2 separate regions of the Homo sapiens genome follow, and region 1 is linked to region 2. The links are contacts of gene promoters, found by promoter capture Hi-C in blood cells and fetal thymus (Javierre and others, 2016). All regions are on one chromosome and are shown on one strand. Each heading gives the region's core, a stretch centred on a gene start or on the middle of the fragment in contact. The rest is flanking DNA. Distances are from core to core; before and after follow the strand shown. Region 1 holds the start of TMED8 (transmembrane p24 trafficking protein family member 8). Region 2 has its middle 5.1 kb from the start of ANGEL1.

Region 1 (5,539 bases), core at 1,967-4,466, 560 kb after region 2:
AAGAGTCTGGGACCTCCTCCCGTCTCTCTCTCTCTCACTCCCAACTCTCGCCATGTGACATACCTGCTCCCCCTTTCAGTATGATTCTAAGCTTCTTGAGGCCCTCACCAGAAACAGATACCAACACCACACTTCCTGTACACCCTGCAATACCATGAGCCAATTAAAACTCTTTTCTTATAAATTACTCAGTCTCAGGTATTCCAAATGGACTAACAGAACACCTGAATATCCAATTCCATTTCTTACTGCTGTTTTCTCTCTGAAAGGGTGAGAGAAATCTCATTAAATTTCATTCTTTCTTAGAGCTCTATTGCTTACTCATTGTATCATTTTCTAGAGGAAGATGGCAGAAGGATCCAATCAAACGAATTCCAAGTTTAAAGCAGTTTTTTGGGGTTTACGCCCAAGCCTCTGGTCCAGGCCAAATATAGTATTTCCACACTGCTTTGGAAGCCCAGCTTAACTCTAACACAGCGTTCCCAAAAGCAGCACCACTGACATCTGGAGCCAGATACCTCCTTGTTATGGGGATTGCCCTGTGCCTTGCAGGATGTTTAGCAAACATCCCTAGCCTATCCTCACTAGATGTCAGCAATAGCTGCCACCAGTTGTGACGAGCAAAAATGTTTCCAAACATTGCCATGCCCTGGGGATACAAAATCGTACCTGGTTGAAAACCATTGCTCTAACCCAAGGAACATTCTTGGTTATCTCAACCCTAATTCTTCACATTCATTAGATGCTCATCCAGATCTCTGCATTCAGACTTTCTCTCACCATCAAACTCAGCAAATATTTGCGAAACCTCTAAAACACAACATCAAGGGCTCTAGATAAATAAACAAGCAAGAGAGATTCCGTTCCTAACTCCAAGCAGGTTTCTTAGTAGATAAAGAATTGTAATAAAAGACGCCCAATTATATAATGTTTTGAATTGTTAATTGTTTCTCCCTGAAATGGATCTCTCATCTCATCAAACTGAAAACACCTTGAGGACAGAGACCATAACCTGTCTGCGAGTACCAATACTTGATTCATGGCCAATAAAAACAAACAATTATAGACTTCATCATAACAAGATGACAATTTCATCCAGACAGTAAAAACTTGCGCTAACTTGAACAGGTAAGTTAACCTTTCTCAGCTGTAGTTTGTTCCTCTGTAAAATGGGAAGAAAATGATTGTTGACATGACTAAATCAGAAAATATAAATTTTTTTCCACCTCTGGCACAGAATAAGCATTCAATATCTGTAGGTTATCATTACTATTATTTTATTAGCAACAAATCCTACCTCAAGAGGAAGAGCTTGCTCTGGGCTACTATAATAAACCCCTACATGACATTAAAAAAAAAAATTATCACCCTGCATTCTGAGGGTAAGAGGAAGGAAAGTAAGCATCTCTACCAATGTCCTGGGAGGAAGTGAATGCAGGAATGAATTAGATGTCAGGGGGAAAAAAAAACACACTCATCTATCTAAAACGCGTGGGTACGTTTGCCATAAACACATGAGAACCTAAAGGGGAAGTAAAAACATGCTTAATTTGTAAATACTGGCGCATGCAAGGGACAAGTGTTATAAGACTTACCTTTCTGTGTTTACTTGCTTAGTCTTTTAGACATTATGCTTAGAATTTCTACTGCTATGTTAAATATATGCCAACGATTTTTAATTTAATACAAAGCAGAGTTCGTAAGAAAAAAAGGCAAAATTTGTCAGGTGTTTTAAAGTAAAAGAATATAAAATCATGGGAAAGAGCTGGGTGAGTTGTGTGTGTGTTTGAATAAGGCAGCATTATGAGAGGGAAGATACTTGGGATCAGAGTAGAAGACAGAAAAAGGCACCATGTTGGAAGCCATACATCCAAGAACACCTCTGGCGGCACAGGAAGTTCAACTGAACAAAAAGAGACCTTACTGTCACAATGGTTGAGACGAGTATAGTGTGTACCATGGACTATACCCCAAATGCCTTAGACAAAGCAGCTCAAGTAATCCTCACAATAATCCTATGAGGCAGATATTTTTAGTAATCACATTTTACAGATGAGGAAACTGACGTTTCAGACTCCAATCCAGGCACCCTGGCTCCACAGTAGTGCCTCAACCATTATACTTTATGGTGTCTATTTTAATTTCAGACCTAGAAAATTAATTTATATTTGCTACTTAAATAAGACAAGTTCTCTCCCCTCTACCCTTTCGTATTTCAAAAGAGCATCCTTTCAGTTGCATCGTGTGTGGTGTTCAGGAGGCTGAAAGAAGAAAGTGTGATGGATGGACTCTTTTGTCTTTGGACACTGAAATAATACACACGGAGGAACTCGCGTTAGTAGAAATGGAGACGTCGTCCTGGACAAGAAGAGGATGAGGGTCTTGAGAATGAGGGAGGTAGGCCAAATTTTTAATTCCTGCTCTTGCTTTGGCTACTGTGTTCAAGCAAAAGACCCCAGACACTACCTATTTCAACTCTGCTTTTCATTTTTCCCACTCTAAGCGATGGAGAGGATGGCAGCAAGGCCAGGGGGCCTATGTGCAGGAAGGCTAGGGCGCAGTGGGCTTCTGGCAGAGGAAGGCAAGGCTGCCAACCCGGGTGGGGGCCGAGAGGCGCGTGGTAAGGCTGGGGCAGGGGACTGAGATGGGGATAGGGTGGGGAGCCAGAAGCAGGGGGCGGCGAGGCCAGTAGGGTTCGGGTCGGCAGTCTAGATGTGATTAGCAGACGGAGGTGGGACCCGAACCCCGGCTGAAGCTGAAACTGAAGCTGAAGAGGCGCCAGGGGCAGAGCCACCCTGTCACTACCATTTGGGCAGATCTCAGAAAGGAAGCGGGGCAGGAATCAAGGCATTTCGAAACAGGAGTGAGTAGAAAATAACCTCGAGCCCAGGGCCCGGGTGGTGGCAGCGGCGGGGAAGGGGCCCCGCGCGCGAAGGGGCTGCCGAGGTGGGTCCGCTCCGCGGGGAAGCCCAGGACAGAGCGCGGCGGAGGCTCGCGCCGTGGTGCGGGGCCCTGAGGCCGGGCGGCACCCACCCGCCAGCGCCCCGGCCTTGCGTACCTGAGGCGGCCGCCTGGCTCCCCTCCACTCCCTGGCAGTCCCCGACGCCGCCAGCCGACCCTGGGCGGGCTGTGGGGCTCCAGGAGCCCGGCCCCTCAGCCGCCTGCAGGTCAGACATCTGCAGCCCGCGCACGGAGCTCTCCGCTGCCAGCCGCGAGTGGCTCCGGAAACAGCCGAAGGCCGAGCGAGCGCCGAGCACAGCCGAGCGCAGCCTGCAGGCCGGAAGAAGCGGCGCGGCGGCCGCTTGAAAAGCTAGCTGACCCAGGGGCGGCCACAGGAGCTCTGGCCCGCTGAGGCTGGCGATGAGGCCGCAGGGAGGGTTACTGCGTGCTTGTGACAGACGATTTTTAAAGTCAGGGCTTGAAAGAACAAACAAAACCTGGGGAAGAGTCAGGAAGACACTGCCGGAAATCGTGGTATCCATAGAGACGCTATCGGAAGTTGGGGTTGCTAGGAAGCCGCGGCGCGTCTGCTAAGCTGCAAATGGCTGAAGTCCCGGAGGATTATGATTCCGGCCCAGATGAAGATGGAGAGCTGGAGCCTGAGAGGCCTGAACTGCCTGGACTTCATAAATTGTATGAAAATGCCGAACCAGACACCATGGCAAAGGCAGACTCGAAGCTACCAGCAGAGATTTACCAAGAGCCACAGCCAGAGACCGAGGAAGAGGACTTCAAAGAGGGGGAGCCAGACAGTGCTAAGAACGTGCAGCTGAAACCTGGCGGGACGTCCCAGGAAGGAATTGCCAAGGAGTCCAAGAGAGACGTACCAAGCGAAACTGAACCAGGGATACACCAAGAGGTAAAGTCGGAAACATCCAGAGAGATGGGAGAGTTTTTCAAAGATTTGGAGGCCCCTATGGATGAAACGCATAAAGAGTCAGACCTAGAGCCACCAGAGGAGGCTAAACCAAATGTTACAGAGGATGTGTTCCTAGAGTCAGCTATGGAAACAGATCCAGATCCAGTGCCACCAACGGAAACCATGTCTGAGGTTTCGGGGGCCACAGTCAGAGAGAGAAATTTAGAATTACTAGAGGAGGAGACTGAACCGGGGGTTCCAGAGGAATCACTTAGAGTGCAACATGAAGAGACAGGTCTAGAGCCTCCAGAGCAGACCAAACAAGATTTTCCAAGTGAGAAACTAGGAGAATCACTTGAAGAGACAGATCTTCAGCCACCAAAGATGACCAAACCAGAGACTCCAGAGGAGACACAAAGAGAGTCAACTGAGAAGAAAAGGACAGAGCCACCCGAGCAGGCTAGACTGGAATTTCTGGAGAAGGAACCAAGAAAGTCTAGTGAGGAGGCAGGTCTAGAGCCTCCAGAAGAGACTCAACCAGAGGTTCCAGAGGAGATGCAAAGAAAGGCAACTGAGGAGAAAGGGACAGAACTACCTGAGCGGACTAAACCAGACTTTCCAGACCACAAGCCAAGAAAGTCTACTGATGAGAACGTTCCTGAGCCACTAGAAGAGATCAAATTAGAGTTTCCTGAGGAAGAATCAAGAAAAACAAATGAGGAAACAATTCTAGAACAATCAGAAATGATGAAACCAGAAAGTCCAGAAGAGATAAGAAAGTCAAATGAGAAAAAAAATCCACAGCCACCAGAGGAGACTGGTCCAGTGCTACCACAGGAGATCAACCCACAAGTTGAAGAGAAAACACAAACAAAGCCAACTGAGAAAATTCTAGAGTTACCAGATGAAACCAAACCAAGGGAGACACATGTAGAATTTTCCAAGGAAGACAGGCCAGAACCAATAAAGTCTAAGTATTCTGTAGGAAACGATGAGCTAGAGCACCGTGAGCCTAAAAGAGGAAAGTTGTCACTAAGTGACAAATTTAGAAAAGAATATTACGCATTAGGATCTCTCAGAGAAAGTGAAGAATCAATTGGTACACATTATGAGTTTTTGCAACCACTCCAAAAATTGCTTAATGTCAGTGAAGAATGCTCATACTCAGATCCCTCAGAGTCTCAGACAGAATTAAGTGAGTTCGTTCATGAAAAGGAAGTTGTAGATTTGTCCCAAGAGTTGAAGGAACGGGTCTCTGAAGATGACGAAACCCAGCCAGAAAAAGGGACTGAGTTACAATTTGAGCATCTTAATTGGGATCCAGAGGAAGTTGCAGAGTGGATTAGCCAGCTAGGCTTCCCTCAATACAAGGTATACAAAAATAAGATGTTTTGAAATCACATGCTGTCATCCGTCTACTTCTTATTCCTTCTAACTTGGCCTGAGCTCTTACCTCTTTACCGGAAGGAGTATCAAAAAGTCCTAGACTGTGGTAGAGGTAACTTGGATTTTAATTTTGGCCTTGCCACTGATGTATATTTGTATTTTGGGAGAGGAAGGGAGGGTCACATCGGTTTGTTTTTCCTCTTCCAGTGATTACACTTCTCTGCAATCCTTGAATAAAAGACCAAGAAGAGTATATAGACCTCCTTTCTTTTTTTTTTTTTGAGACACAATCTC
Region 2 (5,685 bases), core at 2,518-5,017:
TTACTATTACATTTTTGGATTTGGGCAGAAAAGCAGCTCCAGACGTGGCTGATGTAGGATCTTCTTCCACAATTTCTGGCTAAAATAGAGCTCCTGCCCTCCAAATTGTAATGAGTATTACTAAGCAAGCCAATAACTACAGGTTCCAAGGAGACTTGGCCGAAGGAGTGGAGCCTTAGGCTTCCCCAGTCAGAGGAAAATTACAAGTGCAATCTGCACAGTCTCCAGCCTCATTGTTTCAGAAATATCCCAAGAAGAGAGACGATTCCCTCAATTCATTCCAGCTGTGCTAACAATGAAGACAAGTATGAGCACCTGCATCCATCACTACCATGGTTTCCAGGGTGCAGAACCTATGTAATGGAGCAAGTGGGAGGTTTTGCAATACTTTGAGAGACTTAAGATGCTCTCTTAAAGGGACATTTCCAGTCTATAAGAAATTTAAGCCCTTGAGGGCTAAAATTTTACTTATGACAACAAATATATGTGGAATTCCAACAGAGTGGCTGCATTTATTAACTTATTGGTTGAACATGTGCAAATATTGGGGCGGCATAGTGCTTTCTTCAGGATTACAGAGGCTACGGACCAACGCCTGGGACAGTGCTGCCCAAAAGAAATATGTTGTGAACCACATATGCAATTTAAAATTTTCTAGTAGCCTCATGTAAAAAGTAAAAATAAATCAATTGATAAAGCAAGTGAAATTAATTAATAATATTTTATTTTACCCCATAGATCCAAAAATTTTGTATTTTAACTTGTAATCAATAGTTCAAGATGAGATATTTTATGTTCTTTTTTTGTACTAAGTCTTCAAAATCCAGTGTGTATTTTACTTGGACATCACATCTGAATTTGGACTAGCCGTATTTCAGGTTCTGAATACTGCAAGGAGCTAATAGCTACCGTACTGAACATGGGCTGTTCTGGAGAGTGCAAACAGCTTCTCAGATAGGATAGGCTGAAAAGATTTGCTCATCTTCAACTCTTACGATAACCTGAGGCCTCTACACTCCTAGTAATCTGCCTTCTCTGAGCCTGGTGTTTTCTTTGGGAATCTCAAGATTTATGACTAGGCATTCCCAGAATGTGCCAGATTAGTCTGAATTAATGCATTCATTTGCTCACTTATTCACTGATTCATGCATCCATGTGTTCATTAGAGATTTATCAGGCAGTCATCAATGTTTACCCCAACCTCACCCTTGACTTTCCTTGACCTCCTGCCCACTCCTCGATTCCTTGAAACTTCAGCCCTGGACTCACAGTCTTCTTCCCTACCTCTAGTCCTCCTGTCACCAGTGTGGATGAGCCATCCTAACCCCTGGAAGCTCATTGCCATGACCTCCTTAATGACCTTCATTTCCATGTGCTTCAGACACACCCTTCCCTGGCTGCACCTTGGATATGTCATTACTGGGCACTGTTTCCCGTCTGAAATCATAAATTCACACACCCACTCTGATGGCATGGCTTTCTCATGGCTTTCTGCCTCTCCCACTTCTACTTCATCTTTTCTTTTAACTCCATCAGACCCTTGATTTCTCTAGTCTGTCCTTCTCAAGCTTTCCCTCAGTCATCATTTCTTTCCCTATCCAACATGGAATTCCCATGACCCCTCTTTTAAATCACTCTTCCCAATATCATCAACTCTCCTGCCCACTGTTCTTAGATTATATCTGCGTGGGTCAGTAAAACTATTCTTCTTGGCTCTTACATCTGGGCTGCTGAGCAACAATGAATAAAATTACCAACCCCAAAGATTGAGGCCATTAGTGTGCTAGTCTCCAACCTCTCTTCTGCTCGCAACCCTCCCCAGCAATTCTATGCTCTTTAATTAGCTTTCTCTCCCATTCTCACAATGATTATTCTTCTCAAACTTTCTGCCCTATTGCCTCCCTTCTTGCTCTTAGGAGATTATCTCCCCATCAACTTTAGAGAAAAAAATAGAGCCACCAAGTGTAAATTCTCTACTCCCTGTTGCCACAACAATGCATTGACCAGCATCTCTAACCACCTTTTCCTCTTCTCCCAACACAGCAGTTGGCACTTCCACCATGCTCCGGACCCCCTCCCCCTTCCTCTGAGATGATGTTCCTTCTACTACCCCTCTCCTTTCCTTCACTGACCCCTTGTCATCAACATTTAAGCATGCTCAAGTCACTCCTGTCAAGAAGCCCTCCTTCAGTGCCAGGTCCCCTCCAGCTAGCCCCTGCGTTCCCACCTCTCACAGCCAATCTTCTTGCAAGAGTTGTCTGCAGCTGCTGTCTACAATTCCTCACTCTTATTCATGCTCATTCCACTGAGATATAGCTTCCACCACCATTACACCACCAAAACTCCCTCCTCACTGTTCCTGATGCTTTCCTTGTTGAGGATAGTAGGGTCCTGCAGAAAGAACACGCCCTAGGCATTATTATTTCTTGAATATTCTGTAATTTTGCATAACTTCCCCCTTCTTGTAAGATTCTCTTCCCTCGGTTTCTGTGACATTCTTGTTTTCCGCTTGTCTTGGTGGATGTCCTATCCTTGTATCCTTCACTTCTGTTCCTCTCACCACCACCCTTTTCCTGATGATGTTCCTAGGATTTCTCCTTTGGCCTCTCCCCTCCTCTTACTCCACTGTCCCTTCTTGAGAAAGTCTCACCACTCCAATGGCTTCAAATACCATCCATATGCTGACAACTCACACATCTACATTTTTAACCCAAATCCTTTTCCTGGGTCACAGACCCATAAATCTTTTTGCCTGTGGACCTCTCCCAGTGGGCACTCCAGCGACAACTCAAAGACTCAACCCAGTCAAAGCTGTACTCATCACCTCCCCGCCACCATCCTCCAAAAGACCCCTGCCCCAGCTCCTTTGTTCTCTCCTTTAGGAGTTGCACAGCCATGTACTGAGCTATCCTGGCCCCCGCTTTTTTCTTCTCTGCTTTCTCTTATATATCTGATTGATTCCCAGATCCATGTGGTTTGGCCTTCTTTGTATTTATTCAATGGGTCCACTTCCTCCAGCCACTCCTGACTAGTGTTGATTCTCCCCTACCTCGATCCATTTTCCACACTGTAGCCAGAGCAATCTTTCCACTGTGTGAATCGTATCAGGTCACTGCTGCCTAAGACCTTTTAGTGCAAACTCCCACTGTCCTCAAAATGTCAGCCAAGCTCCTTGGATTAACTGTACAGTCAATGCACCTCCCACCCCTAACTGCTTTCAGACCCACCTCTCAGTACCATGATGGCTTACCTCACAAACCAGTAGTTCAAAAGCACAACAGTTTAATCAGAGGGTACAGCACATGCTGGTTATGTGGTTTCTGAAATACTAGCCCCACAACAAAATTGAAAAGGTACAAATTCAGCTGATTTTCAACAATGGTCAAAAGACAATTAAATGGCAAAAGAATAGTCTTTTCAATAAATGGCGATGGAACAATTGAACGTCCACAAGTGAAACAAATGAATCTCAACCTATAACTTCACACCTTATACAAAAACTAGCTCAAAATGGGTCACGGGAAAAGTTCTGGAAATAGATAGGGGTGATGGTTGCACAACATTGTGCATATACTTAAACTCACTGAATTGTACACTTTAAAATGTTAAATTTAATGGTTAAAATGGCAAATTTTATCATGCATGTTTCACCACAATAAAAAAATTAAATGGATCATAAACCTAAATGCAAAAGCCAAAACTATAAAAATTCTAGAGCAAAACAGGAGAAAATCCGCATGACCTTGGGGTAGGCAAATAATTTTTAGATATGACACCAAAAATGTGATCCATAATAGGAAAAAAAAGATAATATTTGTATAATTTTGACAAAATTTGGCTTTATTAAAATTAAAACTTTTACTCTGTGAAAGACATTGTTAAGCGAATGAGAAGACAAGCCACAGACTGAGAGAAAATATTTGCAAATCCCATTTCTGACAAAAGACTTATTTCCAGAATATATCAAGAATTTGCCAAACTCAGCAATAAAAAAATAAACAACCCAACTTAAAACGAGTAAAAGGGCCAGGCGCGGTGGCTCACACCTGTAATCCCAGCACTTTAGGAGGCTGAGGCGGGCAGACCACCTGAGGTCGGGAGTTCGAGACCAGCCTGACCAACATGGAGAAACCCCATCTCTACTAAAAATACAAAATTAGCCAGGCGTGGTGGTGCATGCCTGTAATCCCAGCTACTCGGGAGGCTGAGGCAGGAGAATTGCTTGAACCCAGGAGGTGGAGGTTGTGGTGAGCCAAGATCGCACCATTGCACTGTAGCCTGAGCAACAAGAGCGAAATTCCATCTCAAAAAAAATAGTAAATAAAATGAAATGAGCAAAAGATCTGAACCAAGAACAAAGGAAATATATAAATGGCAAGTAAGCATGCGAAAGGATGCTCAACATCATTAATCATTGGGGAAATGCAAATTAAAACCATCATGAAATACCACTACACACTTACTAGAATGGAAGAACAAAACCAAAAACTGGAAATGGTAAATATTGGCAAGGATGTGGAGCAACTGATGCTGTCATACATTCCTGGTGGGAATTCAAAATGGGCATACACGTTTGGGCATAGTGGTTCACTCCTGTAATCCCAGCACTTTGGGAGGCTGAAGCGGGTGGATCACCTGAGGTCAGGAATTCAAGACCAGCCTGGCCAACATGGTGAAACCCTGTCTCTACTAAAAATACAAAAATTTGCCAGGCATGGTGGCACACACCTGTAATCCCAGCTACTCAGGAGGCTGAGGCAGGAGAATCGCCTGAATCTGGGAGGCGGAGGTTGCAGTGAACCAAGATTGCACTACCGCACTCTAGCCTAGGCGACAGAGCAAGACTCTGTCTCAAAAAAAAAAAAAAGAAAAGAAAAAAAGAAAAGGAAAGAAATGAGTCCACAGCAATCCCACTCCTAAGTATTTACTCAAGAGAGAAGAAAGCTCATGTTCACACAAAAACCTGCACATGAATGTTGATAGCCATTTTATTCATAATCACCAAAAAAGTGGAAAATATGAAGATGTCTTTCAGCAGGTGAATGCATAAGCAAAGTGTGGTACATCTCTGTAACAGACTATTACTCTGCCATAAAAAGGAACTCTGCAGCAACATGGATGACTCTTAAATGCATTTTGTTAAATGAAAGAAACTAGTTCAAAAAACTACACATTGTATGGCCTCATTAATATAATTTAGGAAAGGCAAAACTATTAGGATAGAAAAGAGAAGACTGGTTTCCAGCAGACAGGGAGGGACGAGGGGTAAAGGAGGCAGCATGAGAGGCTGTTGAGGGTGATGGAACTCTTTTGAATTGGACTGTGGTGGTGGATATGTGACTTCATGGATTTGTCAAAACATGTAGAACTGTACACCACAAAGAATGAATTCTGCCATATGTCAGCCACAATAAAATCAACCAGGATATTGGGGAAAGATGAAATGCAGACTCTGACAAATGAATCTAACTGTATTACAAGTGAATTAAATAACCCACTGAAGCGGGTGGGAAGAAAGAGTTGACCTAAATAACTGGGGAAAAAAGTATTTTGACTGGCTACCACAAGGATAAACAACCACAACTTATATACTGACACCATGCTCTAGTTAGTAAATTTGTTTCTAGGACTATGGCTTAGCAATTCCGAAACTAATTATGTATATATATTAGAGATGAACAAATA

The links. The method cuts DNA at HindIII sites, captures the fragments that hold promoters and counts their contacts. A CHiCAGO score of 5 or more calls a contact.
Region 1: a contact is called between the fragment with the promoter of TMED8 here and a fragment that was not itself captured in region 2, in 1 of 17 cell types (neutrophils). The highest score is 5.9, in neutrophils.

What each region holds. Positions count from the first base shown.
Region 1 is chr14:77,373,878-77,379,416 of GRCh38, forward strand. TMED8 (transmembrane p24 trafficking protein family member 8) reads right to left here and starts at 3,217. Exons shown (of 6, transcript NM_213601.3): 1 at 3,059-3,217. The coding sequence starts at 3,176. SAMD15 (sterile alpha motif domain containing 15) reads left to right here and starts at 3,502. Exons shown (of 3, transcript NM_001010860.4): 1 at 3,502-5,230. The coding sequence starts at 3,542. RefSeq lists a silencer at 2,795-3,224 and an enhancer at 3,275-3,484. The HindIII fragment of the contact is 9,682 bases long and covers 90-5,539 here.
Region 2 is chr14:76,815,187-76,820,871 of GRCh38, forward strand. No RefSeq gene overlaps it. Among named protein-coding and RNA genes, the nearest start is that of ANGEL1, 5.1 kb to the left of the region's middle. The HindIII fragment of the contact is 4,403 bases long and covers 1,567-5,685 here.